Linked DNA regions of Homo sapiens: all the other regions are linked to region 1. Evidence: promoter capture Hi-C in 16 types of primary human blood cells and fetal thymus (Javierre and others, 2016). All regions are on one chromosome and are shown on one strand. The core of a region is centred on a gene start or on the middle of the fragment in contact, and the rest is flanking DNA. Distances in the headings are between cores, read along the strand shown.

Region 1 (5,846 bases), core at 2,106-4,605:
GTAGGAAGATATACAGAGAGTTTACCAGATCTTATGCCCTGTTTAAAAGGCGGGGGAGTATCCCCAAAATATTTAAGACAATTCATATATGCTGAATGCAACTAATTTAAACAAAAGACCACTTCTACCATTCCTCATGTAAAGCCTTTAGGGCTAACAGGAATATTTTCTTTTTGAGACAGGGTCTCTGTTGCCCACGTTAGAGTGCAGTGGCCCCATCTTGGCTCACTGCAACCTCCACCTCCCGGATTCAAGCAATTCTCGTGCCTCAGCCTCCCAAATAGCTGGGACTACAGGTGCATGCCAACATGCCCAGCTAATTTTTTTGTATTTTTTTGTATTTTTTAATAGAGATAGGGTTTCACCAGGTTGGCCAGGCTGGTGTCACAACTCTTGACCTCAAGTGATCTACCACCCTTGGCCTCCCAAAGTGCTGGGATTATAGGCGTGAGCCACTGTGCCCGGCCAACATTAATATTTTTTATTAGCTACTACAGCTTAGAGTAGCTGCTATGGGAGTGTGGCCTTTTTGATTAAATACTAGCTGATCAACCCTAGAATATAAATTCTTGTTTTATAACATTTAGATTTAAATAACAATAAGAATGTAAGCTCCATGAAGGCAAGAATGCCTTTTTGTTTTGTTCACTGCTGTGTCTAAAATAATGCCTGGCTCAAATATTTGTTGAATGAGTAAATATGCTGACTTTGCTGAAGTATTTAAGCAAGTTACAGATATTATACAAGTAAATATTTTGGGCACAAGCACACTTAATGAAACAGTAAAAAAAAAATAGGTTTGAAACACATAATCCTTCGTTATAGGAGGCTCAAGAGTTTAAAAGGAAAAAAGGGGGAAGATACCCAGGTAAGAGGGCATGCATGCTAGCTTTCCAATACTTTGATATTACCTGCTTTTTCTAAGACTGTATCAACCTGTCGCCCACCCATAACCTATCTTTTCATAACAGAGTCCAACTAAACCTAAAAATTAAAACTGGAACCTAGCAGCTTCTACGCAATCTAAGAATACTTTGTTCCCTCTCTCAAAATCTTTCCCTGCTTTTGAATAATTGACTTTTGAATTCATAAAAACCTTCCCTTATTAATCATCCTATTACTTGCATCATAGTAAACCCTGATCAACTCTTAAAACATTAAAAGACATTACTATATTTCTTAATGAATACACAAGACCTTTAAGTACAAATGCTTTTATATTCAGCCCCTGTAAAGCCATCAGATGTTTGAAAGTTTTTAAACACGAACCAAAGGGTTTAATTTTAAGAACTTAGCTAGGAATGGGTGAAATCCTACCCAATTAATAGAGTTCTGCAAATTAGTAACAAAGTGTAAAATGAAAGGAAGGGTCCCTTGGAGATGTGAAATTCTTCTATTGAGAGTCCTGTCTTCTTTATTCAAGAAGTTTGTAGCCATTTTCAGAATTCACTCAAGAACCAACTTCTTAATTTAGATATCAGCGAACAAGTCTGTAAAAAGCAAGTATTTGTCAGCAATATGTGCTTTATCTTCCCAGTTTTTAACACTTTATGCCTATTTACATATTGATAAAAAGAAAAGCCTAGAACATTTCTTGTAAGGCCTCTATTTTCTATCCAGAGCTGAAAGTTCAGGTCATAAAAACACACACACACACAAAACCCACTGTATTTGAGATTATCAGTCTCTACCAAAACAGGGAGGGAGAGTAAAACTCTCCCTTTACAAATGGCTTGACAGAGAATTTTATAGAAATCCCTATCCCTTTTGCCATCCTCCCATTAATCCCTCTCGCTCCCCTGCCACCCCTTTTTTTGAGACAGGGTTTGCTTTGTCTCCCAGACTGGAGTATAGTGGCACGTTCACAGCTCACTGAAGCCTCGACCTCCCCAGCTCAAGCAATCCTCCTATTTCAGCTTCCCAAGTAGCTGGGACTACAGGCGTGAGCCACTGTGCCTGGCCCTCTCTGTCTTCTCTAACTTACTACACCATCCAAGAAATGAGACAGTGAGGCTTAAGACACCCAAATCTTGGTGAAAATATAGGATGGGGGTTGGGGGTGTAGAAGAAGTGACTGCCTATCAAGAAGTGAGAATTTCAGAAGTAACTCATAGGCATGGTGACTAAGGAGTTAACAGTGAGTGAACAATCAACTCCAAAGTCCAGGAGAGCTGTCTAGATGGGCTACACTGCTCTTCTCCCATAGGAGCCCTGTTTCATCTCACTGCTTCTCCTTAGCTTGTCTCTTAACACCATCTCCATTTGGTGTCTGCTTCCTCCTGCCCTATTCTCTTAAGTTCCCTTCCTTTACCCTCTGCCAGAATTGTCTTTTCAGAGCGAGTGGCGATGAAAATGGAGAGCATGGGTTTTACAAGTAAACTCTACAGAATTTTGTAACTTGGTGTTTTAGGATATGTGGATGTGTGTAAGAAAAGGGCAAAGTGTCTCAGGTTTCTGGGAGGTAACGGTGGATAAAGTTGGCGTTTACTGAAATGGTAACGCTGCAAGGCAAGTAAATTTGGGTAAGAAGCTGTTAAGAGTTCAGTTTTGGACATGTTTAGTTTGAGACAGCTGCGTGGTCTGCTCATGGTTAAACAGCTGTATAGTAAAAATAGCTTTCGTTGAGCACTTACTACTGCCAGGCAACATGCAAATCACTACGATCTCAATCTTCACTACACCCCTATGACCTGGGTTACTAATGGTCCCAAATGGCAGATGAAAAAATAAAGCTCCAAAAGGCGAAATAACTTCTCCGGTCGCTTCATGGTGCTGCAGGAACTCAAGCCTAGCTGGTTTCATTCCAAATCATGAGAAAATATGACGCCAAGTTTTCTCCACACTTCTTTGGAGACTCCCACGGACGTGCTAAAGAAGGACATTTTACTCCTAGTCCTTCTCCCCCACCCACCCGACTGCGCCACTCACCAGCTGTGTGATCTTGGACATATATAAACTCTCTGGAATTCAGTCCCCTCCCCGCCCAAAAGCGAGCAAATGATCTCTAAGCTCCTTACCACCCCAATTTTGCATTCGAGATACTCACCATGGCAAAAAATACACAAAGAGAAACACCACCACATCGAAAAGGATGAAAAGCCAGAGGTCCAACCAGTAGGAGTGTTTGGGAAGCCCATTTGCCCCAGACTGAGGCCTCACATCGAAGTTCTGCCTCCCTCCCTCGCTAAAGCCTCGCCGCTCCCGGAGACCATCTCGACCATCAACACCCGGTGCGTCCACCTCCATCTCGCTCCTGCAGCTTCGTAACAACCCTAGAAACCGAAAATGCTTAAGTTCCCGGACTTTGGTGTTCGCCGCACCGGAAACTGAGCGGAGTCCGGCCGCCTGCGCAGTGCGCCGCGCCCCGGGTTCCGGAATGCACTCTGAACCTACTCTTCCCAGCGCGCAGGCGCCTGGCTCGGCTTTCCGCTGCCTCCGTGACCGCTGGCATGAAGCGCGGCCTCCGCCTTGACACTAAGTCAATGGGCCCGCCTACTTCTGCCTCGCGGCGTCCCAGGCAGATAGCTGGTTATTCAGGTTTCGTTGGAAGAAATACGTTCTCGTCCCCCTGAAAGGCCCAGTCCAGTCAGGTGATGGACTCCTCCCTGAAACTGCACGAGGTCACCTCTCCTATCCCCGTATTCCGTTTGGATCCTTATGCCAACGTGTTAGGAAGGCCCCCTCTGGTGGGTTTTGTACTGTCTCTAGCATTTGACACTTAATATTTAAACACCACCAATGAGGTGGACGTCCTACTCACGGGACTGAGTTTCCAAACGGGCCAGAGAGCAGCACGTGAGCATTTTGCAGGTACTTCAAGGGAGTGGGTTTAAGAATAACCTGGCCGCGCCCCCCTGTAATCCCAGCACTTTGAGAGGCCGAGGCGGGCGGATCACCTGAGGTAAGGAGTTCGAGACCAGCCTGGCCAACATGCTGAAATCCCGTCTCTACTAAAAAAAAAAAAAAAAAAAAAAAAATCCAAAAATTAGCCGGGCGTGGTGGCAGGCGCCTGTAATCCCAGTTACTCGGGAGGCTGAGGCAGGAGAATCGCTTGAACCCGGGAGGCGGAGGTTGCAGTGAGCTGAGATCGTGCCACTATTGCACTCCAGCCTGGGCAACAGAGCGAGACTCCATCTGGGGGGAAATGGGGGTGGGAAGAATAACCCAAAGGTTATTTGACTTTGAGTGTGAGCCTCAGCAAGAACAGAATGCTAGCAGGAAGAAAATGACCTATACTGCCTGGATTTTACCTCGTGGGTCCAATTTCAAATATTCTCTTTCTTGTCACATTATGATTCCTGAATTGTTCAGAAAATAACGGGCACCCAGACATATAAGTGGTTCTCTTGGTGCATAGTAAATGGAGATAAGACTGTAGTTGTGTTTTTACAAAGTCATTAAATCGTCGTAAAACCTCTTTGAAGGGGCAGTACTCCATCTTATAGAATTAGGAAATGAGACACAAAAGGAGTGAATTGTCTAAGGTTACTAAAAAAATTATAAAGCCTAAAATTAACTCCAAATCCAGCACTCTTAAAGCTGTTCCATAGCTTCCTAACCTTGCTCCAATTTGCCTCCAAATCAATTGCCAGGTTTTAGAGACAAAGATAGTATACGACCTTTCAAGAAAAATGCTTTGTAGATTCTGGGATGAGAGGGCCATTACCTGAGAATTAATTAGATTGTGTGCTGTAATACAGATTGTCTGATGGTAGTAGACAAAAAGACCCTGGGCTTAAGTGGCATTGAATCTTTACAAAAATTAGGAAAGGCAAATAAACAATTGCCTCTACCAGAGATGGAAGCATTCTTCTCGCTGACAAGGTAGGATCAATTACTCCTAGTTATTGAAGTAGGATTGATAAAAAATTATTGAGATTATTAGTGTTGAAGAAGCATGACATAAACTGAACAGGTCTTGAAATGGTTTTAAACTTGTCTTTGGCCCAGAGTCACATGCTCATCATGAGGGGATGTTGACAGTATGATCTGTTCTAGAGTCAGGAACGTCTGCCAGACTTGGAAGAGCAACTAGTGCAAATAAGGAGGGGTTATTTAAACTAAATTCAGTTGAAAGATTCTATTTCCGACTTTACCCTTGTAAAAGTCCCACTGATTGTTGATTATTCCACATTACAGAAATGAGTTTAGAGTGTGTTATGGCTGATTTTGAACTACTGGCCTCAAGTGATCCTTCTGCCTCGACTTCCCAAAGTACTGGGATTACAGGCATGAGCCACCTTGCTCAGTTGGCATTTGCCATTATCAAAGCAATTTAAATTTTAAAAAGTACTGTACTGAAATCCAGGTTCACTGTCAGTCATGCAATACCTCGGCACTTGTCCAACCACCTTGAACTTTCTACTTCACATGTTCAACTGAAAAATATGCACCAGGGACTACAGATTGAATCATTGCACTGCAACCATGATCCAACACTTCCATAATTCTGTCAGCACAATTAATCTGATTGAGCTGGGGTGGAGAAGGTGGTGTATGAAAATGCTATAACCATCAGGCCAAAGACAGCTAAGTGTTTTTAAGAAGACGTTACAGATCTTCTGAACTTCAAGTGCAATAAGTTTTCAGGAGGGAGATGATGATGAATTTTGCTTTAACCTAAGGGATAATGCAAATTTTTCGTATGCAGCTCTCAAGCCAGTATATCCATGTGATAAAGCATCCTCATGATCATCCTAGGAATTAAATTAATTTTATAGAATAACCTCTCCAACAGTGGAGAATTTGGTTACTGTAATTTTCATCTGGAAATATATGTGTTTATCTTAAATTATTCTTTCTCATCTTAACTTTGTCTTTTCCTCCTTTTCAAGTTGAGTACCTGT
Region 2 (5,941 bases), core at 2,693-5,192, 260 kb before region 1:
CAGTGGAAGATTTCTCAACAATTATTTCTGTCAAAGGCTTCCCAGCAAGGACACTTTTAAACCTTACATTTTTTCCAGTGGTTTTTTTTTTTTCCTTTTATATATCATTGTTATTTTGAAAACATCTCCTGAGGAACTAGTGTGATAGATTCTAAACATGGGTTTGGAACAGTCCCATCACCAACTTCAAAAAAAGAAGATGTGAGCTTCTAGGTTAATTGTAAAAACTCATTACATTTGCAGAGCTTTATTGACTTAATTTAAAATCATAGAACCACTAATAAGGTAACAATTATGGGGGCTTAAGATGTGCTAGGTACCACTCTAAGCACTTTTTTGGTCACCACAAAATGATGAAAGTATGATGTAGGTACTATTATCATCCCACTTTAAGATGAGAAAATTGAGGTAAAGAAAACTTAAGGAACTTGTGTAACATGGTAGGGCTAAGCCTCGGGACCCAACAGTCAAACTCTATGGCCATCATCTAATCACAAGGCTATACTACCTCCCCTGATTGCAAGAAGACTCAGGTCACAGGTAAAAGGAACTGCTCATCAGAAGTGATGAGTTTTACATGTCTCAGAGATAACTCCAAAGTTACACTAAACCTTCTAAATCAAAATAAGAAATAGTGCAACATCTTAGAGTTTGGTAGCTCCAAGCAATAGACATTTTTAAACAGGGTGCATGGGGAAAAGCTGTAGTTTTTATCTCCATCAGCCTATTTGCTTATTACAACTCAATAATGGCGAAGGGAAGCTCAACATTTTGCTGGTTTCTGTTGAACAAATTCCCACAGTGCACTAGACCACACGCCTCAAACACCTACCGCTTCCAGCCAACCAGCATCACATATTACCAGAGTTATGGTAATTTATACCTGGCAAATAAAGGAAGAACAGAATAGTGATGAGAGAAACCCTCAAATTTCAGTAACAATAATGCAGAGAATAAGGTTCCTTCCAATTTTTAAATTAAAAAGAAGACAAGACTTTTTTTTAATTTAGGAAAAGCAAAAGGTAATCATGTCTTAAATGAACTTCACATACTATTAGATGAGATAAGGTGTGTAAACCTTGAGCCCACAAGAAGTACATTGGTAGTGATTAAGAGTGTGGGCTCTAGGGCCGCGCTGCCTGCCTCTGAGTCCCAGGCCTGCCTCCTGCTGGTTGGGAGACTTTAAACAAAGGATTCAGTCGCCCTGTGCTTCAATACCTCAGCTGTGAAACGAAGACAATAATAGGTGTACCTCACAAGTTGTTATGAAGATTAAATGAAACAATATGCATTTTGTATATAAAACACTGCCTGGCACAGAGAAAGTATTCAACACATGTTAGCTATTATTATTCTTCTAAGGGGCACTCAATAAACAATAGCTACTATTTTAAAAACTTCCAATGAGGAAAACACAATTAAACAAGTTCTTTTGTGTTCTCTGTTAATATGAATCCCAGTTTGAGACCCACAACTAAAATAGGAAAAGTAGAAGGAGTGTCGCTATAAATTTCACATTGACACAAGAAATCTATTCCCAGGAGTCGTTGAGAGATCTTTGTTTCTTCTCTTTTTTCTTCTTACTGAAGTTTATATGTTTACATTCCTCTGTATTCAGCCTGTTTGTCCATTTTTTCCTGCTTTGTGTTCATCTATTGTGCCAGCATTCTTTTCGTGGTATACAAAGATGAGATCAGATTCAAAAAGACTGGTTCAATATTTTTATAAAATAACATCAGCTTTGAGCCTCTACTATAAAGACACTGTTTTCAGTTCAAAGTACCAATGTTAAATAGAATGAATGTAGTGGACTTAGTAATATGAAGAGAGCTCTTCTGGGGAAATGTTTGTAAACCAAACATATTCTCTAAACAGGATAGTTGGTATCCTGAGTAACCTGGTAGCATAGTTGAAGCTTAAATAGGCCTATTACACTGAAAGTGGAGCAGTTGGCAACCCTATCCCTGAGACTACCCCACTTCAGACCTGCAACAGTTGGGCTGACCTAGGAGGGCGCAGCTCACAGCTGTCCTTATCCCTCCTTTCCACACTGTCCTAGGACAAAGGGTCAGCAACCTGGCCTTTTTAGAGTAATTGATCCCCTTGCCTGAGAGGCATGATCACTTTCCAAAAACAGAAAGAGTGAAACCTCGGCCTGAACAGAGCAAACTCCCAGCTCAGGGCAAGTGATGAAAAACAATTCTAAGAAGCTGAGCCACTGACATAGGGAGGAACTTAATATTCCAGCTGCCTTTCAAACCCAGGGAATTTTTGTGGGTTTTCTGGTACTTCTAGAATCCTTCTGAGTCAGAAGCAGAAGTCAAGACTCATCTTGAAGATAAAAAATCAAAACAAGCTGAGATTCTGAAAATGTTATCTGAATCCAGAATAGCTTTTGTTTCAAATGCAATTGAATTGATTTAGTCTTGCTTTCCTTTTGTGCCATTTAATTACATTTAAAAATAAAGCAAAACTAGGCCTCTTACTGTACTAAAAACCCCTTTGTTCTTTTTTCACCTAGCATATCTAACACTGATAAAGAAATGTTCACAAAACCATTTTCTAGAGCTAAGAATCTCTAAGGAATTGGTTGAACTAATATAATGTACTAATTTAAGGTTTCATTGCAATCCTTCCACAATTAGATCTTTGGTTTGGAGTTTTTTTTTTAATTCACACTCAGAGTCTGTTGGTTGTGGTTGGATTACTTATTACTGTTTAACAAATGGTGCAGATCATAATTCTTCACGTAAGTCCAATATGGGCTAGATTTTGAATTCTGCATTATGAAATACTCACTGAAATGTCACAACTCATTGTGGGTGGTATTACTGAAATAAACAGCAACACTAAATATATTACTTAGAACTTTTAATTTTAATTTTACATTGAATGAACTAATATGATTTCCTTTATATACAGCACTTTAGTATGAGCAAACTATTCCCTTCGTAGTGTAACATATAGCTTTCCACTTTTTGTTCCTAGTGTAAAATTAAGATTTCCCCACCTTAGAGATAGCCCCACCTTAGAGATTCTGATTTACTAGGTTTGGGTGGGACCTAGGAATTTGTTTTTGTAACATACAACCCAGGTGATTCTGATGCTAATGGGCTGTGAACTACACTTTGAATAACACTTTTCTAACATGCAAACCACTTAAATCAACTTTATTCTTTAAAACCCATAAATAGTTTTCCTGTTTATCCAGTCAGGGACAGCCAGACTTGTAAACTGCACCTGCTTCCACAGTCTTAGTGCCCCGTCTAAAAGGAACAGGCAGGCGCTGAAGCACTCATCTTGCCGATTTTATTTCAAACGTCCAGGAGATGGCAGCAAACTCTCCTTCCCTCTCAGTGCTTCACAGGCAGCCATTCTAAAGCTCGTTGCATTACAATTTGCTTTGAATATTCTTTTTTTAAAAAAGACAAAAGACTAAAGGGGGCCTTGAGACGTGATTTTTATCTGACCCCCTGCTTCTAATCAAGAATGAGTATAAATATTTCTAGGGATAGAATAGAATGATACAATTTTATTATCTAGAAAAGAGATTGAATTTCCTTGGCTATTTTTTCTTATCTCTGGGGAAAAAGATTGTATGACTTCCCTTGGCTGTTGGGCCCTAGACTCTGTTATCTCCAAATCCAAAATATTCTTACTAATAACTAGCTTAAATCTATCTGGCAGTAATCTAAACATTCTTATTTTGGGATCTAGGCTAATGGAAAATTTTGAAGCACTTTGAATGCTTATTAGCTTTTTAAAATGAAAATAAATACGATTATAAAATTTTCAAAAGAAAAAGGAAGTTCATGCACTTTATGCATCATAGGGAAAGAGCCCAATATTTTTGTTTAACTTTAACATTAATCTTGGCAAATAGAGTAGTATGTCAACAAAATGCAAAATCAGTCAGAGGCTGCTTATATGTTACAAGAGTGTACGGAACAAAGAAACAGGCAGACCCACTTGGTGACGGCTTTGATCCTAACAAGCACATTGTTTTCAAAACTTTGAGGCACTAAAGTTTATTTCTAAAACAGAAAAGATGGTGACGTGTTGGAAGTTCTGTGATGTGAAATATATGTTTGTACATTTACCAGTGGGAGGAGAAAAGACTAATGGGAGAGCTGGATATTATAAATGATGGGTTAATGCTGGAGCCTAGGTCACTGCACAGGTTTGATGCCATGTGGTCAATGAATGACTGATCTGTTCATTGTATTTTGTTTGTTTGGTTGGTTGTTTTTTTTCTTTTGTTTTTGTTTTGTTTTGTTTTGTTTTTAGACAGAGTCTCGCTCTGTCGCCCAGGCTAGAGTGCAGTGGCACCATCTCGGCTTACTGCCATGTTTTTTTTTGTTTTGTTTTTTGTTTTTGTTTTGGATAATTGCTTAAGAATTTAGACACACATACTACTAAAGGATCTCTCTTTTCCTCTCTTTCTCTCAAATGTGTATTGATGAGGGCCTATCCATTTTAGTCTCCCCAGAAGTTACTTTTTATCTTAGGCTAAGATTACATATCCATAGCAGTTAAGAGGGCTGATGTAGTATTTTAGCTAATTCATAATATTTTTGTAAATTCATCAATGCATTTGCATGAATTAATACTAAAAGTGAAAAAATTGTTTAACAATTGTAATAGTCAATAAATACCTAACATCAAATCAAAATGAAGGCAAACTTTGGGATGGGGAGAAGTCAGGAGAATACTAAAGAATGAGATCCTTTTAATAAATGTGTGGTCTACATGGCAAAATTTGCTGTAGTATTAACATACAATGTTATCTCAAGACAATTATACATTGCAGCTTCATGAATGCATTAAGAAAGCTATGCCGGCCAGGCGCAGTGGCTCACGCCTGTAATCCCAGCACTTTGGGAAGCTGAGGTGGGTGGATCACTTGAGGTCAGGAGTTTAAGACCAGCCTGGTCGACATGGTGAAACCCCACCTCTATTAAAAACACAAAAATTAGCTGGGCGTGGTGGCACATGCCTGTAATCCCAGGTACCCGGCAGGGTGAGGCAGGAGAATTACTTGAACCTGGGGAGCAGAGGTTGCAGTGAGCCCATATCGTACTGCTGCAGTCCAGCCTGGGTGACAGAGACAGACTCCGTCTCAAAAAAAAAAAAAAAAAAAAAAAAAAAGCTATGCAAATAAAAACCAGCTGTAATAGCAGCTATAGCCATGGGCAAAATTAAGTATTTGATCTCTAATTTCGTATGTCTGATAAGTAGACACACATTCCAATAACTCCCGAGACATCCTTTCAGTGATTAATGACAGACTACAACTATATCTGGAATTAGTGTTTTCAATGGAAGTAAATGCTGCTTATTCTGAAGAAATGTAACTGGGATACTTCTGATAAAAGATGTTTCCTAAGTTTCCCATTTGTATTTGAAAAGCACATGATCGTGACCATCATTGTATACTTCTCTTTAACCCATGTTTCTCCTCCAGCAAAACAATCACACATTTGAAAATCCCACATAGTTTATGGCATCTCCATGTCTCTAAAATGAAATGACATACATGAAATTATTGTGTAAATTCCCTCAAACAGGAAAGATATCATTAAATAAAACTTATCACTTGGACCAGAGATGTGATAAAGGAATTGAGCATAATTTTTTTCTATTCTGTGCTTAAGAAAACAAGCTGTTGATGCCTTTCCTGATGAAGAGCTGGATTTATGATTCCTAATTTTATTTTTATTTATTTTATTTTTGAGATGGAGTCTCACTCTGTCGCCCAGGCTGGAGTGCAGTGGCGTGATCTCAGCTCACTGCAACCTCCACCTCCCAAGTTCAAGTGATTAAGATTCCTAATTTTAAACCTCACTCTGGGGTCATGTTTTTGACCAGGAAAACATAAATATGATAGGGAGTAAATCTTACATTTCTCAAAGAACAGTAGGTTAAACAATTTCCCCAGGGC
Region 3 (5,910 bases), core at 170-2,669, 350 kb before region 1:
TTCCCTCTCTAGAATTTTTGTAACTAGAGGTTCAAAATGTTTGGTGTTGCGCTCTGTCTGATTTCATATTTCCAATAGTGGTTTTCAAAAGATGAAAAATTTTAATTAGTTGATTGCACTAATAAGATCCGATTTGTTAACATTTTGGTTCATAGGAACAGAATGAAGAACCAATTAACCAAGTACAGGGTAAAACTCAGCAGTAGGACTAAAATGTCCATTTTCTTAAGGAAGAAAAGAAGCAGACACTCAACAACCATTTTCTGAGTCTACATGGGGAATCCATATAAATACACAAGTTTTTATTGTAGTGTGAAAGAATCAATGCCTATCAATTTACGTTACTTAATGAAGGTAAATTCCAAACCCAGCATTTCATTTTATTTGGTGTCTTTCTTTTATGTTGCTATAAAGGAATACCTGAGGCTGGATAATTTATAAAGAAAAGAGTTTTTATTTGGCTCACAGTTCTGCAGGCTGTACAGGAAGTGTGGCACCAGCATCTGCTTCTGGTGAGGACCTCAGGAAGCTTTCAAACACGGTGGAAGGGGAAGGGGAGCAGGCATCAATTGCGAAGGAAAAAGAGAGAGGAAAGAGGTGTCACACTCTTTTAAACAACCAGCTCTTATGTGAACTAATAGAGCAAGAACTGACTCATGACTGTGGGGAAGGCACCAAGACATTCATGAGTGATTCGTTCCCATGATCCAGACACCTCCCACTAGGCCCCACCTCCAGTTGGGGATTAAATTTCAATATGAGATTTGGAGGGGACAAATACCCCAATTATATACTTAGTTAACTTGCATGGGCTTAAAGCATTCACTGCAGTTAGAGTTGCTCCTCTGTGCTCAGTGGTGAAGGATCTTCCTTAATCTACCCACTGGAGGGTTTTAGAATAAGAAAGCCTGGGTTTCCTTGCAGACAAATAAAAATCTCTGAGTAGGGCCTTGGAATTTAAAAGCTTTCCAGGTAGTTCTAATGTGTAGCCAAGAACCTTTGGCAAGCCTAAGGATGCTTTGTCAATGGGAGTGATATGTCCCCCCAGGAGCATGAAAGTTGATGTGGTGGTGGTGAAAAAATTGTAGGAATGACAATGGTTCGTGGACCTCTAGAGAGCCACAATAGATAAACAGTTATACGGCAGATCCGAAGCATTTGCATTTCATGGTGGGGTGGTGGCAGGAGATTATTAGAAAAACAAAAGTCTAAAAAGACTCCCTAGGAAGTAATAATGAAAAAAAGTTGAAAAACACTACCCTAACCCTATGAAATTGCTGCTATGGCTTTTGGTAGTCCAACTTCCTTCCAAAATGCAAATCTAGTTGAATGCTCTTGCAGGTATTGGTAGAGAAAAATAGCATCTTTAAATTATGTTACAGCCAAGTGTGGTGGTTCACTCCTATAATCCCAGCAATTTGGGAAGCCCAGATGGGCAGATCACTTGAGGTCAGGAGTTCGAGACCAGCCTGGCCAACATGGTGAAACCTGTCTCTACTAAAAAAAAAAAAAAACAAAAATTAGCTGGGTGTAATGACACATGCCTATAATCCCAGCTACTCGGGAGGCTGAGGCAGGAGAGTCGCTTGAACCCAGGAAGTGGAGGTTGCAGTGAGCCCAGATCAAGCCACTGCACTCCAGCCTGGGCGACAGAGCAAGACTCTGTCTCAAAAAATAAAATAAAATAAAATAAAATGAAATATTCTATTACATGTCAATCACTGAACTAGGGGCTTCTACACATGCTATCAAGTCGATCGTCATTACCCTGCACTTTTTTTTCAGAATACAAATCACAAATATAATTAGTTTTACTTGATTTTTGTTTCAACTCTATTTTCAAAATGATTTATAATGAAAGTTACTGTCTTTATGAAGCTTACAAAAAATTCCATTTGAAGCTATGAGGCCACTAGGTAGCTTTAGCTTTAAATTGCTTTCACGTTAAATAATTGTCAGATGCATTTAACCAAGTTTGAAAAAGATGACATTCTGTTAAAAGAAATCACAATAGAAAACTGCCACATTCCATTCTCAATAATACTATTTTTCTAAAGAATTTTAGAAAATCATCATTTCATTAATTTGTAATAAGTTTTAGTGTATAACACCCACAAAAGGCAAGTATATTTAAATACCAATGGTTGCATATAATCTTTTGCAAGGATATAGGTTTGTTTTAAAATGTATCTGGGATTTTATTTTGTTCAGTTATAGCGAGGCCAACAGATCAGGAGATAATTACCATTGAAAAGATAGTTTGCTACTCACAGTTCCCAAGGGTAGGGCCACACAGGACAGCCCAGGGAAACACCAGGGTCAGTCAGAAGCAGAAGCAGAGAGCAGAAGGCATGGGCAAGAGCCTGTATTGTGGTTTCTACAGGAAGGAATGCGCCAAGCAAGGGGAGTAGCTGAATAGGCTTAGGATTTGATAATTTAAATAATTTTGGCAGGTTCTGGGTTATAAGAATGGTCCCCAACTGTCTGGTACCTGGTGCTAGGGTGACTAGGACAGAGGAATATTGCTTCTTGGAGTGTCAGAGCCAGGTAGAGGAGGCAGTGGGAATGTGGACTCAGGGTTGGTTGGCTTACTTATGAAAATGTGCTCACAGGCAAGTGGACTATCTCTAGGAATCACCTAAGCCTTGGAAGGCCAGTCTCTCCTTGGTTAGTGAGGTCCCACATGCCAGAGCATAAGAATACAGAAAATAATATTGTTAAAACAGGGTTTTATAGTTAATAAAAGGTTGAGTCTCAGAAATTCAGATCCATAAACTCGATTGGTTGTGAAAAAGGAGAAAGCTATCCAAATGTCATGAAGAAATATAACTGGGTGCAATGAAATCTGGTCCATTTCTACACAACCAGTGTAAAGATATTGAAGTCTTCATGCCATTGTATACATAAGTCAAGAGAAATTACCTATCCTAAATGGTGAAACTTGTTGGGAGGAGGCAGATGGAGGCAGGATTTTATTGACATTGTGGTCTTGCTATTTATATCTCCTGTCTTATTTCTCTGTGTGCTTGGTCTATACAGACAGTGTGTAACTGATGGGAGTTTAGATACTTTCTATTACCACAGATCTTAGTTTGTCTGTGCTGCTAAAAATACCACGGTTCTGGAGGCTATGAAGTCCAAGATCAAGGTGCCAGCAGGTATCTGTCTGGGGAGGGCCCCTTCTCTGCTTCCAAGATGCTGCCTTGTTGCTGCATCCTCTGGAGGGGGAGAATGCTGTGTCCTCATATGGGATGGAAAGGGAGAACTGGTCCCCTCTAGCCCTTATATAAGGTCACTTATCCCATTCATGAGAGCTCTGTCCTCATGACTTAGTCACTGCCTAAAGGCCCCACCTCTTAATACAATCACACTGGCAATTAAGTTTTGACACATGAATTTTGGAGGACATTCAGACTATAGCACCAGACAATGCCAGTACATGAAGAAACAGCAAGTTTGTTGGGACCCAAGGGCAAAAATCTGTAGTTTCAAAAAGTATGAAGAGTTTTGTTATTGTTGTAGTTGTTATTTTTACTGCTCAACAAAATGAATACAACATTGTATCAAAAAAATCTAAATTTTATAGTAATATAGGCCATGGCTGAAAATCTAACCCAGGTATTTAGTACTAGCATGTTACCTTTCCAAACGTGAATTTTTCATAATAAAATTCATGTTGTAATACCACTCTGGAGGCTAGAAATAATTTGAAAAACGTAGGAAATAGTTGAAGATTAAAATATAAACTTTTTTAAGAAGCTAAAGCTGAATTTGAGAATGTGGCTAAGATGTGCAACCACAATGAACTTTTTAATATTTCATCCCAGAATTAAACTTCTCCTTCCAGTCTCAGGCAAAGGAGAGGGCCCACTCTTCCAAATATAGCTGAGAATACAACCCAAGTAAGGAGTCTTAAAAGGGACTGACCTGAGCTAGGCTTTCTCAGTCCCTTCTGTTAGTCTCAACAATCAGGCAAGACAATTATCCTCTGTCTTGAAGAGTGAGTGAAGGGTTATGAGAGAAGTGCATGAGTCCCCAACCTCCCAGCTCTGGAATAATTACAAGCAGGGACTGGAAATCCCCTTGCACTACTTTGAAGATTATTGTGAAGATCAATTACAGACGATGTATGCAATCTGTCTATCCACAGCAATAGGTATTTTCAATGGAAAGAGATAGTTAAATTAATCAAGACTTCATTTACCACATAGAGGATTGTTCCTTCTTCTGATAATGAAATTTAGTAAAATCACTTCTTTTTTATTTTTTTCCATATCTAAGAGTAAACTTTTTTTAAAATTTTATTTTATTATTATTATACTTTAAGTTTTAGGGTACATGTGCACAATGTGCAGGTTTGTTACATATGTATATATGTGCCATGTGTAAACTTTTTAATTCACAAGAAAAGCAGATGTTCTGTATGAATTCAAGTTACTTGTAATTATGTATTTTGAATTAACTCTAATTAATTTTATATACAATTCTCAAATTTCATTCTAGTAAGACAGGTAAAATTGGTAAAAATATCAGAAATAATGTAATACCAAACTGCAAACATGAATATTATATTTTACTATTTCAATTGTTATTGTTGGTATTTTAGTTAATCACATTGGATAGTAGGTACTTCATTCATCATTCTAGATAGAACAATTTAGCACATTTGTTCAAAAATGAGGATTTGCTCTCTCAGCAATGATACCAATATATATTGTTTATTAAGAGCTTTATGCATCAGACAGTGTGCTGGTGCTTTACAAAACTTTATTTCTAATAGTATAACAACCTCGGAAGGAATTATTATGATACCAATTTTCTAAAGGAGAAAACTGAAGGTCAGAGAGATAATTTTTAAAAAATTATACAGAATCAGAGTAGTGGAGTCAGGATTCTAACCCTGAATCCTGCAAATTCTTTCCTTTAAATATGTCTTTCTGCCTTTCTGTAGGAGAATTTTATGTGAAAAGAAAGAAAACAAGATTATAGTTCCCTCAATGTAACTAACAGAAGTGACCTTGGAACTTCACTTGATTGAAGTATATAAGGGACAGGAAGACAGCCCTTTTTTAAAGGCTCAGTATGAGTTTAAACACGTTGGTCATCTTCACGTTGTTTGGTTGATTTATCCAAACGATGTTGAGAGCTTAGAGAACAATAACACAAGTTTTCCTGCATTGATTCTAATTTGACGCTTTTAATGAGCACACCATTGTTTTCATGGTTTTTTTATACCCTGAACGTCTCCCTTCGTAGGATTCATCACAATTGTAAATTCTTTGTTGAAGTTTGTGTCAGATTCTAACCCCTGAGCAGGGCAGTGATGACTTAGTCGTATCACTGTATCCCCCATTGCCCAGTGCGGGGGATAGGACAGGTGCTCATTACACATCCATTGGCTATTTGAATGAGTTAATGACTAATGGTATAGGGTTCTCAGAAATGAGTGGCAGAGGTATTATCAACTTCAGCCAAGAAAAGGAGAGACTCTGGAGGACTCAATCTTCCTTGAACTGTAGCCTTTTTTTTTTTGATAATTAAAAATTACTCAGAATTGCACACACCATGAGGCTTTCAACACTTTGTACCATATGGAAATATCTGTTACATTTTCATAATTTGCATGTATAACTGCAAAATCACAATGCTTATTTTAGATTCCTAGGAATTAATGTAGATTGCCAAAGATCACCAGTGTGAAGCTCATAAGCCAGCATAAAATAAGGTATTGATGAGCTCCAGGGAGAATAAAGGATATTTATCTCTCTTGATTCTCTCCAGTGAACTCCTCTCTAACAAACTGGACCCTCTGGGCTTGGTGAGGAATAGATCAGAATGCAAAAAAGTTGGAGCAAAATCTATGTCATGTGCTTCCTCTTCCTCTACCCCAGAAGGCCATGATTTCTGCAG
Region 4 (5,841 bases), core at 2,428-4,927, 330 kb before region 1:
TCAATCAATCAACCTTCTAATCAAATACTGGCCAGGTGATGCATGGCTCTCACTGAGATGGGATTGCATCCTATTAGGACGTACATGGGTTTTGCATGAGGGGGACCACCCGTCAAGATTATCCACCAGGCTTTTCACTCCATTTAACCTAATTCTAGCATATGGAGCAGGTGCCAAGGAAGTTTTGGGGGATAAAGATAAATAATAGATTTTTCAAAATAAGAGATGTGGCTGTGTGTGGTGGCTCATGCCTGCAATCCCAGCACTTTGGGAGGTTGAGGCGGGCAGATTACTTGAGCTTAGGAGTTTGAGACCAGCCTGGGCAACAGGCAAAACCCTGTCTCTACAAAACACACACAACACACACACACACACACACACACACACACACACACACACACACTAGCCAGGTGTGGTAGTTTGTGCCTGTGGTCCCAGCTACTTGGGAGGCTGAGGTGGGAGGATTGCTTAAGCCTGGGAGGTAGAGGCTGCAGTGAGCTGAGATTGCACCACTGCACTCCAGCCTGGGTGACAGAGTGAGAGCCTGTCTCAAAAGTAAATTAAAAAAAAAAACAATTAAAAACTGAGAGATATGGAAAAAATGTTATCTGAGAAAACCATCAGGTTTTATTTATTAGGGTGACATACTATTTCTCTCTCCCTCTCACTCTGCCTCTCTACTTCCACCTGTATCTCCATCTTTCTCTCTCTTCTTCCCTCCCACTCTTTGATTTGATTTTTTTTCTCATTAATCTTAGGTGGTTTCCAAGGAAGAAAGTTTACGGTAAAGCCATTCATTTATTTATTCAATAAATAGTAACTACTGTCTGTTAGACATTGTGCTGGAGATGTAGATGTTCTTACAAACAAGAAAACCCCTGCTATCAAGAAACTCAGTCCAAAGGACTGAAAAAAAGACAAGAAAATTAACCTTTATGTGGAATACATAGTGTGTCCCAGGTGTTAGCTGGGACCTCCTGGCTCGTTGAGATCTGACTGGAATCAGCACAAAGCTTCCATTTCATGTCCTTTCGAAGCCCAAAGGCTGCTCCCAAGATTTCTGTTGCATTCACAGTCAGCTCTGCCCTGACTTCCTGCTTTCTAATGTACTGTGCATCTTGTAGCTGTTCCTTTATCTCTGTCTTGGCATAAACTCAAGCTTGGGAAACAACTCTTTCTCATCTATTCTCCCTCCCCTACACCACACACAAAGCAATCATAAAAACCAAGCTGATAATATATTGCAAAAACTTGAACTGAGAGTTTTTGGGTCATGGGAGAGCACAGCAATAAACTTCAAATGACAGAGGGCACATTCCTGTTATGAGTCCATTTGCCAGCACCCCCCCACCCCAACCAGGGCCTTCTCACTGTCTGCTTTACCCCACACAGCAGCCATATGCCTGCCAATCTTCTCATCCATCTCCCGGTTCTACTCCTCACATCATCCCTCCTGCACTGCATTCTACCCTCCTTCAAGCTCCAGCTCCAGGATGCTCTTGCTGTCTGTTGTACAGAGTAATTCTGTTCTTTTCATGCATCCCCCAAATTCAAATCCAGGCCCACTTTTTTCATACCTAAATCCATCTTGGTGCTTGGGCAAGGAGACTTTTATGTTCCAGGATCTACTGTCTAGCCTCCATAGAAGGCAATTATGGTTACACAGTATTGTTTTTTCTCCTTCTTTACTTGCACTATGATTCATTTATTCAGTCATTTGACAATATTTACTGGATGTCTGCTATGTATCAGGCACTATTATCGGTGCTGGAAATAAAACCGTGTACAAGATGGCACAGGTCCTGTCCTCATGGATTTACATTCTGGGAAGTACGTACAAGATGATATCAAAAAGTAGAGGGGGCTGGGTATGGTGGCTCACATCTGTAATCTCAGCACTTTGGGAGGCTGAGACGGGAGGATCACTTGAGCCCAGGAGTTCAAGACCCGACTGGGCAAAATATGAGGCCCTGTCACTACAAGATTTTTTTTAAAAAAAATTAGCTGGATGGAGACTGAGGTGGGAGGATTGCTTGAGCCCAGGAGGTTGAAGTTGCTGTGAGCCATAATTGCACCACTGCACTCCAGCCTGGGTGACACGGTGAGACCCTGTCTAAATAAATAAATAAGCCCATACCTCATTCTGGGATGGGAGACTATTGTGGATTATGGAAAGCTAAGTCTGATAGGACAACCAGGATTAATCTAGGTGGATCGGAGGGACTCACGGGCAAAAGTTGGCAGCAAAATTCTCAACCATTCATTTGAGTGGATAGAAAGAAACGGGAAATAGAAAAAGTGGTTTATTTGAGAAGGCATTCATCATCGCTCCCTCTGGCTCCTATACCTCAATGCTCAAGCAATACCTTTAAAGCAGAATTGAGGTATGAGCTCTCTAGGGAGAAAGAAAAGGCAGTCTGCCTCCCCATTTTAGCTTCTGGGTAGAGACGATAGATAGAATAGGCTTGTTTGAGTTGGTTTGTCTTTCCCAGAAACCCTGGAGCACAGCTCCCCCACTTACCCTTGTAAACCCCAAGGGAGGACTTCTTCTATATAATCTTGCCTGAAGAAGGAAAGCTAGGGTATGGCAGAAGGTTTGGTCAAGATCCTAAATTGCTGTGGGATTTAGGATTGGACCCCAGGGCTGCTGCTAGTTCATATGAAGCATTTATAAAAATTTAAATTATATAGCTATGTATCATATATATAACATATATATACACACACATACTTCTGGGATGATATAACCCAAAGCTACTGTTTTACAGGGCTTGGCAAGTGAAAGACCCCCCTCCCCTAGTTCCTCCTGTATTGGGTATTACCTGAACAAATGGTGGCCTAGTTTGTCCCAGATTGTATAGATTTTACTAATGTAGGTTGAACAGATTGATGAAGTTTTTAAAGTATCTGAATCTACTCATGTACTTGAAGAGCAGGTCAGCAGGTCCTTCCTTACAAAGCTCTGAATGATTAGTTAATAACATGGTAGTTTTTAAGGAACTGTACCTCACAGTAAGTACATCTTTTTCCTCTTTATCCAGTTACTTAAAATGACAGTAATAATAGTTAACCATTATTGAGCATAATGGATATGTTCCAGACAGGCACTAAATAGTTTACAAAGATTAATTCTATGAATTCTTATAACAACCTTATAACACAGGAGTGTACTATTATTCCCTTCTAATATTTCAGAAAACAAAGGTTTCAGTGGTTGAACTCAGCTACTGAGTTAATTTCAAGCCCATTTTAGCTCCCACTCTATACTGCCCATTTTCTTTTTTCTCTCCCACCCTCTTCTTTCTTTCCTCTACCTCTGTCTCCCTATAGGAAATAAAAGTCTGCGGAGGAACCACGTAAATATGATTTTCGTCGAGCCACCTGATAACTCTACAATTGACCTTTTAGCTCTGACATTCCCTGAGACTGAGTTTTCCAACAAACAACTTCTCTTTGTTGTTTGGGTTATGCTTAAGAGCCAGCGTTCTGAAAATCCTGGCTTCAGGTTTCCAAACTAGCAGGTTGTGCTCAGAGCCTAATCCTTGCTGGATGGTAGCACATTTCATCACACAAAAACCACAGCTCCTCTTGGTCCTTGGCCTGATGCTCTGCAGCTTCTTTGGCCAACTCAACTAAAAGTGCAGTGGGGAAGCCCCATTCATGGTAATTTCCAGAGAACCATTTGCCTCACTTGGGGAAACGGGTATAGCACAATCCCTGATAGTTTCTGGACAAAAAGGTTCCATGTTTTCCCCTATGCTTTTGGCATGTCTTGGATGATTCCCTTTGGTATGAGTCATCTCCTTAAGAAATCATAAGATATACAGCATTTAACTAAAGTTTGTAACACCAGATTCTCTCCAGAAGGTGTTTTCCTTGATTTGGCTTTTTAATTCTTCTTGATTTGAAAAATCTTTATACCAAAAAAAAAAAAAAAAGTCAACTTAAAACATGGACCTATCCATGCAACTTTAAACTTTATTAGAGAATGTCATATAATGAAGACATACAGCTATTCTATAAAATGTCTAACTATGGTGAAAAAATATGTGACATTCAATGTATTAACTTTCAAATAACATAGCTTAGTGCTCTTGGTTATTGGTTTCCAAAGACTTGCTGAGCATTTCCTTGTTTGGCCTTGGAAGAATTTGCTCTGGGATTTCAGCCTGGCCCTTGACTTGCTGAAAAACCACAAGATGTAGAACAAAGAGAGCAGGCTGAGAAGCCAGTTAGTGAAAATGAAAGCAAGAGGTCCTGGCCTGAGGCTTAGTGTGTGTTCTTGAAAGAAGGAAGTTGCTGCAGGGTCAGGAGAATGTCACTGGAGGCCCTTGCACTTGCTAATGCCAATCAGACCTCATGGGCTCCAGGCAAATCAACAAAGTCTGGAGACGAAATGTTTGAATGTAACTGTTACAGCAATGTCCTGGCTCCACAGAGATGTCTTTTCTCCCAGAGGTTACTGTTTCACCATTAACCATTTAACCATTTTCTCAGCCACTCCTGAGCTCCAGTCCACTCTCCCAACTCAGTAGGAAAAGTGAGTGACAGATTTTCTAAATTAGAGCCCAGACTTCGAAAGGTCACAGCTAAGAAAGCACCCATAGGCATTTGCCTTGCCATTTAGTAAAATTTCTGACCATGATACAGTGATGGGGCAATCTAAGAAGGAAAGGGGACTGGATTTGTGTGGGTTTGCAGAGGTTAAAAGAGCAGTGTCTTCTGGGAGTCCCTGGTGGAGGAGTGATGGGTCTTTTTTCTTTTTAAAGAACTTTAAGTATATACTGACTTGCAATGGGTAGAGCAATTTTTAAAATTTCAAATGAATGGCATAACTCCCTTGTGGAGGCCTCTCTTTTCAAAGTTAAAAACAAATTTTTGCAGAAGCAAGCTCAGACTGATTTTTGAGCCCTCCTGCATTTTCCAGGTGGAAATTCCTTGGCCTTTGAACCCTGACTAAAACGTCAGAGATTATAAATCTAACTGCTAAGTATTATGAAATATAGCGTGGCAAAACAAAAACGAAAACAAAACAGAACGAGAAAATCCACAGAACGAGAGGAGTGAGGAGACCACTGTCTTAGCCTCTATGTAGTTGAGCAAGTCCAGGAGTCTTTCCAGGTCAGTTAAAAGGAGGGACACGAATCATTAGTTAACCTCAAGGGGCCCTTGCAGCTCCTAAATTGTATACTCACATAAACACAACACTCTGTCTCTGGTGGGTTACCACTGTTTTATGATATCCTACACTGTACAGCTAAGTTTTGGACCAAGTTTACAAGGTAGTGTTACTCCCTAAAACATTTTTCTGATATATTAAATTGAACTCTAAGTCCCAGAAATGCTACATAGAAATTACATTGCACTTTGTAAAAGTTGTATATGGCTCCAAAACTGCATTAGAGACTAAAAATATATTTCCAAACTCTTACATGCATGGTGTTCGTTTAAAATGGAAAATGTATTTGTAAAAAAGTACGTTTCTCTCCCGATGGTAATACTGGGTTTATATTATCCATTACCAGTGCTTTCACTGCCCTCTGCTGCTCTGAGGAGGTGTGGAGCGCCAGTCTTTTATATCCCATTGGAGAAGGCCAACTTTTCATTTATGGTCATGATTATTAATGTTCACTGGCATATTCCAAGTGTAATACTATCTGACTTGGAAAATCCCAACAATGAGGTAGCCAATGGCCTGAAACCAAAGAAGCACTGTGTTCCTGTGAACCAGGACTTTCTAAAGTCTTCTGGGGTTTTATTAAGTTCTGGGCGTTCTTTCTATAAGGTCACTAATATATGAAAATAGCTGTTATTTTGGAAGTTGATTACAAGGTTTTTTTT
Region 5 (6,161 bases), core at 3,374-5,873, 310 kb before region 1:
TTTTTGGTAGTTTTCACAGGATGCTAATAAACTGATCAGCCTAGTATGCTAGAGATATTTAAGTTCTCTTTCCAAATATCACTGCATACATACCTAAATAACAGACCAATCATTGATTTCCAGAAACCTGTCTGGAAGGCATTCTACATTCTTTCCTTTGCTTCTTTTTATGGGCCACAGAAAGAACACGATAGTTCTTGAATACATTTCCCAGATTGTCCAAAGAGGTCAAACTCTTAATGTTAAGCACAGTTCTTTTGAGACTGTGGTTGTGGGGGAGAAATTAAAGAAAGATCTGGAAGCTAATGGAAGCTACTCAGATGAGTAGCTTCTTTAGTGCAACCTCAGCTGGAACGTCAGTGACTCTTGAAAATTCTTTCTTCCCTCCCAAGTCAATATCCTATCAAATTGCTTTCTGTATTTTTTTGCAAATCTCCAAACAGAAACTCATGGAACACAGAGGTAATCTTGGCTACTTTGCAGAGATGGCCAAGGAGATTAGGTGTGAACTTCTCCGGTTTTCTTCCCTTCATTGTTAACTTTGCCTTTATTCATCCCTTTCAGTCTTTTCCAGGATCTTGTTCCATCAAACATCTCCCTACCTCCACCCTTTTCTTTTCAACCTTTTCCTCTGTACTTAATGGGGAAAGTTCTTTACCTCATTTCTCTTTCCAGCATCTATTCTCTCTGCCTCCATTCACACTAGATTCCTTGAAACAGGTCTACACCAGACACCCCCATGCTCTGGCCTTCCTTTACTATTTCCCTTGCATTATTTTCTCCGGAAACTACCCTTTAAACCCCACCCATGAGCTACTCATCTCCAGGTGGCTCAATGGTTTCTTCTCAGCTCTTCCTCTTAGTGCATTACATTCCTATTACCATGATGGCAGCATTGATCTAAAATCCCCTGACCTCTCTCCCTTTGAAATACTTTCTTCATCAGAATTCAATAACAAGCATACTCACTCGCTGAACATTTCTCCTTAGTCTCTGTTGGCCCCACTTCTACTTCCTCCTTGATATAAGAATTTTTCAGTACTCAGCCCCTTTATCTGCTGTGTTCTTTACTGAGCTCATAGAATCCTACAACTTTAACTACCACCTCTTTGCTCATAACTCCTCAGTAATATTTCTAACAAGCTACGTGCCTGCCCTTCCAACAGGATATTTGTCATTTCCACATCTATGTCCTATATCATAGGCAAACATTTCCAAAACAGAACTCATCTTTCCTGCACAGCCTCCCCATATCCTGGTCCCAAACTGAGTTCCCCTCCTTACCTTTCCTCAACTCTCAAGTCAAAATTTCAACTATCCTTGACTTCCCCTTTGTCATTTGTAAGTTGACTGGACATGGGGAGCAGAGGATTATGAAATGTCTTTTCAGAATCCCCCTTCTACATGCGTTGAGAGTACTCTATTTCCAGCCTTCATTTCATCACCTAGACTTCTGAAAAGATCACCAAACTGGTGTCTCTGTCATGAATCCCCTCTTCCTCATTCCAGCCCAACCAATATTTGGCCATTAGCTATTTTCCAAAACAGTCCTTTCCATACAAAAGAAACTGGTAACATTAGTTGCTTCCAAAATAGGTGACTGGGAGACGCAGATGTAAGAGAGAGAAAATTTACATTATGTACCATCTTGTTCCTTTAAAATGCTGTGCCTTATAAATACATTAGCTATTTAGAATAATAATGTTTAGTTTAAACATTAGATATTATCTGTTTAATTAAAAAAATCCTCTTCAGTTATTCTTCTGCTCAAAATCCTACACACATTGCCTTTGGAACAAAATCAAACTTCATCATATCGTTCAAAGCCCCTAAAATGACCCTTCTACTTTTCCCTTTACTCTGCTTTCAGTCTGCCCTCTGACACACTCCACAGGCCAGACACAGGCCAGCACTCTGGATTCTCAGGCTTCCAAACCTTTGTTTAAACCATTCCCTCTGCCAGTGGTGTCTTTCTTCATCCCAAATTGAAGTCCTACCTTCCTTCCAGCTTCACCTCAGATGGCACCAATTCCAAAGTACTTTTCCAGATCCCAGCATTTAGAACTACTCCTTCCCTTCTGTAAGTTTCCTGGCCTAAGCACTTGATGAGTCTATCAAAGTCAGCCTGGTTTTGTAGTTATTTATGCACATGACTGTTCTTATCTTTGTATATTTTGCACTGCTTGGTTCAATGCATTTCACATGATGGATACTTGGGAAGTGTTTCTGAATGTCATTGGTCCTCAAGACACTGAGAAATCCAAAATTAGAACTGTTTGGATATGAGACCCACTGGCATCTTTTTGTCATTTACTATTGTTTGTCATTGACATTAAGAAGTACAAAGCTCAATGGGTTCCCTTTAGGTCAATGCTTCTCCTAGTGTGGTCCTAGACCTGGAGCACTTGCTAATGTGAAGATTCCCAGGCTCCAAGAAACCTACTGGTTCAGAGTCTCTGGGGTAGGATATGGCAATCTGTAGATTAAATACGTATCCCAAGTGCTCCTTACGTACACCGAAGCTTCAGAGCCACTGCTCTAGTAGGATGTAGCAGGGTTTGGGGGAAGGTTGTAGAGGCAGATAATCCTTGAGGTTTGATCCTGCTTGTCTGCTCAGTGCTCCTTAGCTTCTGCCAGTCCTTCAGCCCTGCTCCTCAGCTGGGTTCATGCTCCTGGCTATGCCTCGTGCTCCTGGAACATGATTTGCCGTCTGTCTCTCCTTTCAGAAGACAGCTGAGCTGTCAAGCTCTGACTCCCTGTGGAAGCTGTCTGGTGCTGGCACATTTTGATGGAAGAGGGATGCCTCAGACTTCAACAATAATCTCATCTTTTTTCAGTCTTCTCTTCTCCCCTAAAACTGCTGTAGGCAAGTGACTATCCTCTGTGTTGTAGACAGGAGGATCCTGTGTCAAGAAAACATTGAGACTTGCCTAAGCCACTGACATATTAATAGAGTTAATGTCAAAAGCCTTGTCATCCAACTGGGCATTCTCAGTGACACTGTGTCAATCAGCAAGTCAATCAATTAACAAGTGTTTAATCAATGCCAATTAGGCATCTAGAAGTGTCTTGTTTAACATCTGCTGGCTGGGCTGGGCCCTGCACAGAACTTGGTTCAGTGTCCTTACAGTATCCCTGATCGAGGATCTAATTCTGTACCATGTCATCCACAGTTGGCTGCCTTTGTGGTCACACCAGGTTGCTGGGCTATATTTCATGTGAACACCACCATTTACTACATTATTCTGTAGGCCCTAATGAAGTTAAGAGGAGCAGGATACGGGGGCCAGCTATTTAGCCCTCCGATGTGAACAACTCTTCAGCAATCTTAGCTTGATGTTGTACCTCTCACTCTGTTAGGTTTTCCTTGCACTCCCATTGAATTAAAATTAGAAATTCTGTGGACAAGGATGTGACTCTATGAAAGAAACCTTCTTCCCCTCTGCCAATCCATATACATGTAAAATCCCCAACCCCCAGCATAAATGACCTTTGTTCTCACAATTTTAAATCCTTTTATAGGTTACAATTAATATTTAAACCCACCCTATGGTCCCCAAACCTTTCTAAAAGTAATCAGCCCATAGGATGCCCTCTTGCAAAAGGCTACATTTTCTATACTTACATTTTCATTTATTTTCTAATAGTCACAGTGGAAACTGTAACCATGAATGTACAACTCAGTAATCCAGTTAAGACTTGCTTTTTTCTGCCAACTTACTCTTTTATGAGCCAGAGATAGTAAAATAAGTCCGACATGTTTAAAAATGCCAATTCAAACTTGAATTTCTATGCCAAGAATGTTCTTTGGGTTAGGTCACTCAGAGTACTACAAACCAAATTTCATGTGGTTTTCAAAGTAGCCCCGAAACTCGACCTTCATCTCAATTGGCATTGGTGATACCAAAGGTATCTATGAGAACATCACTGGCCCATCCCAAGTTTGAGAGATGATAATAGGCACATGTGGCCATTTCCACTATATCTAGTCTAGGATTTAGTCTATGATTTAGACTACCCAGCTGTATTTTAAACTAGTCCAAACCACGACTGGCCGCAGGGAGCATAGACCTTTTCTGAGAGGGATTTTAGCTAATAATTTTACTTCCACATTGTTCCATCCTCTATTTCAGGATGCATGATGTACATACTCTTCCTTTTTCCATCTCATTTCACCATTAAATAAATGCCCTGGCTGGGTCAGAGGAACCAGGAAATAGACTGTTATTCAGTGTGCTATTGATATGGCCCCTAAAGCCTCCAACAACTTCCCTATAGACATCACAAAATGGAACAGAAAATTCTAGTGGATCACCATTGTCCATTCATAGGCACTGCAAATGTGTTATATGTCTCACTCAATAAACCAACACAGTTTTGCTGAATTATGCTAAGTCAAAGTTTTCTTTAAATCCCATTATCCTTATCATTGTTCTTGGTGAAACTGCAAATAAATAAAACCTCTAATGAGTTATTTTTAGATATCTAAATGGACACAGGAAAATGTTAATTGACTCCTCAAATTTACAGAACAAGTTAATAAAGGTAGAATAAAAGAAGAACTAGTCTAATAACTTTCTTCTAAGACTACAGTGAAATTTATTTTATCTCATAACATCGAATGTCCCAGCTAAGGAACATCAAGGAGAAATTTGATGCTTTTCATTCTTTAGAATTTCACTTTGATGCAGATAATGTTGCATTAGTTATTCTTAATTTTACTCTCTTCACTTATTAAAATGCCTAATATGGGCCAGGCATGGTGGCTCACGCCTCTAAATCCCAGCACTTTGGAAGGCTGAGGCAGGAGGATTGCTTGAGCCCAGAAGTTTGAGATCAGCATGGGCAACACAGGCTGATCGACAAAAAATAAAACAAAGTTCCCTGGGTGTGGTGGTGAGTGCCTGTGGTCCCAGATATTTGGGAGGCTATTTGGGAGGATCACTTGAGCCCTGGAGGTTGAGGCTGCAGTGAGGAAAGATCATACCTCTGCACTGCAGCCCACATGAAAAAAAAAAAAAAAGCCTAATGTGAACTCGAATTACTGCTTCTAGATTATTTTCTTCACTTAGTACTGATGCATCTGAAAGTAGAATGAGAATTGTATTGCTATTTAAGTATATTAGCAGTGTTATTACTCTGCTCCATTTTTGTTTTTAAAACATCCATTTTTATAATCACCTACTCTATGTCTAGGTCTTTAACATACCTTTTATATATTCTTCATAACATATAAGATGTGTATAATCATTATAACCTTACAGAAAAGGAAAGGGACTCAGAAATATTCTGTACCATGTGAAGTACTTTAGTTCAGAGTCTGGCAGGTAATAATTCTCAATAAATATTAAAATTATCATTATTTTTCCCAAAGCCACAGAGCTATTGGTTGGGAGAATTTGAGCTCAAATTCAAACATAACAACATGTTTTTGCTAATCTGCACATGTACTGCCTCAATTTTCACACTTGATTTCATGAGCAGGAAAGTTATTTTAGTCCTGTTTATTTGAATAGCTAGAGCAAATATTGCATAAACTATTATTTGCCAGTACTTCTAACATTAATTTATGTGAATGTACACCTGTGTAGCTTGTTGTATTTGTTCTATTTTGGTTTGGTTTTTAGGTTTTAATATTGTACACTGTCATGTTTTTATGAAAACCAATAATTTAGTGTTTTTTTTTTTTCCTGGGGATGGGAAAAAGGTGTTAATGGAGAAGCAAATAAATGTGAAATGAAACAGTTCTGCCCCAGGGAACAGCAGGAAACTTCCCTAAAAGCAGAGGTTCCTAACACAACCTTATACAGCAGGTTGAGCAAAACCTAACTCTAAAAATGGTACTTGCTTTCAACTACAAGACAGGACATTTGGATTCTGTTTAGTTTCCAACTGAAGTTTTGGAAAGTACATCCAGCATTTCCTTTAGAAAAGCTCCAAGGAGTTTCTTTACCTACGAGTTATTCTGAAAAACATTTGTGAAAATGTGGGCTTTTATTTTTATTAATAAATGGCCACAGCTTTCATTTTGGGAGGAATTCAATTGACATTATGATGAGGAGTTTCAGGTCCAGACATCCTGTGTGCCCTTTTCTCTGTAAGCACAGCTGTGAGAGCTACAGGAGCCTCACACTTGGCTTTGCCCAAGCACAGTGCCGGCA

What was found. The method cuts DNA at HindIII sites, captures the fragments that hold promoters and counts their contacts. A CHiCAGO score of 5 or more calls a contact.
Region 2: a fragment that was not itself captured here is called in contact with the fragment with the promoter of ARLN in region 1 in 13 of 17 cell types (naive CD4 T cells, total CD4 T cells, monocytes and 10 more); the score reaches 10.4 in naive CD4 T cells.
Region 3: a contact is called between a fragment that was not itself captured here and the fragment with the promoter of ARLN in region 1, in 1 of 17 cell types (monocytes). The highest score is 5.3, in monocytes.
Region 4: a fragment that was not itself captured here is called in contact with the fragment with the promoter of ARLN in region 1 in 1 of 17 cell types (M0 macrophages); the score reaches 8.1 in M0 macrophages.
Region 5: a contact is called between a fragment that was not itself captured here and the fragment with the promoter of ARLN in region 1, in 5 of 17 cell types (M0 macrophages, M1 macrophages, monocytes and 2 more). The highest score is 9.4, in M0 macrophages.

What each region holds. Positions count from the first base shown.
Region 1 is chr4:119,297,290-119,303,135 of GRCh38, forward strand. It overlaps ARLN (allregulin), which reads right to left and starts at 3,356. Exons shown (of 2, transcript NM_001001701.4): 1 at 3,047-3,356; 2 at 1-1,490. The coding sequence starts at 3,246. The coding sequence ends at 1,490. RefSeq lists enhancers at 2,950-2,999, 3,100-3,329. The HindIII fragment of the contact is 14,870 bases long and covers 1-5,846 here.
Region 2 is chr4:119,038,817-119,044,757 of GRCh38, forward strand. The region is part of intron 4 of SYNPO2 (synaptopodin 2); the gene reads left to right. Among named protein-coding and RNA genes, the nearest start is that of SYNPO2-AS1, 57 kb to the left of the region's middle. The HindIII fragment of the contact is 4,059 bases long and covers 1,914-5,941 here.
Region 3 is chr4:118,948,080-118,953,989 of GRCh38, forward strand. The region is part of intron 1 of SYNPO2 (synaptopodin 2); the gene reads left to right. Among named protein-coding and RNA genes, the nearest start is that of SYNPO2-AS1, 34 kb to the right of the region's middle. The HindIII fragment of the contact is 914 bases long and covers 963-1,876 here.
Region 4 is chr4:118,963,939-118,969,779 of GRCh38, forward strand. All of the region lies in intron 1 of SYNPO2 (synaptopodin 2), which reads left to right. The region is part of intron 2 of SYNPO2-AS1 (SYNPO2 antisense RNA 1); the gene reads right to left. Among named protein-coding and RNA genes, the nearest start is that of SYNPO2-AS1, 18 kb to the right of the region's middle. RefSeq lists an enhancer at 4,129-4,178. The HindIII fragment of the contact is 5,041 bases long and covers 1,158-5,841 here.
Region 5 is chr4:118,982,636-118,988,796 of GRCh38, forward strand. All of the region lies in intron 1 of SYNPO2 (synaptopodin 2), which reads left to right. It overlaps SYNPO2-AS1 (SYNPO2 antisense RNA 1), which reads right to left and starts at 2,084. Exons shown (of 3, transcript XR_939120.3): 1 at 1,998-2,084. The HindIII fragment of the contact is 4,207 bases long and covers 2,521-6,161 here.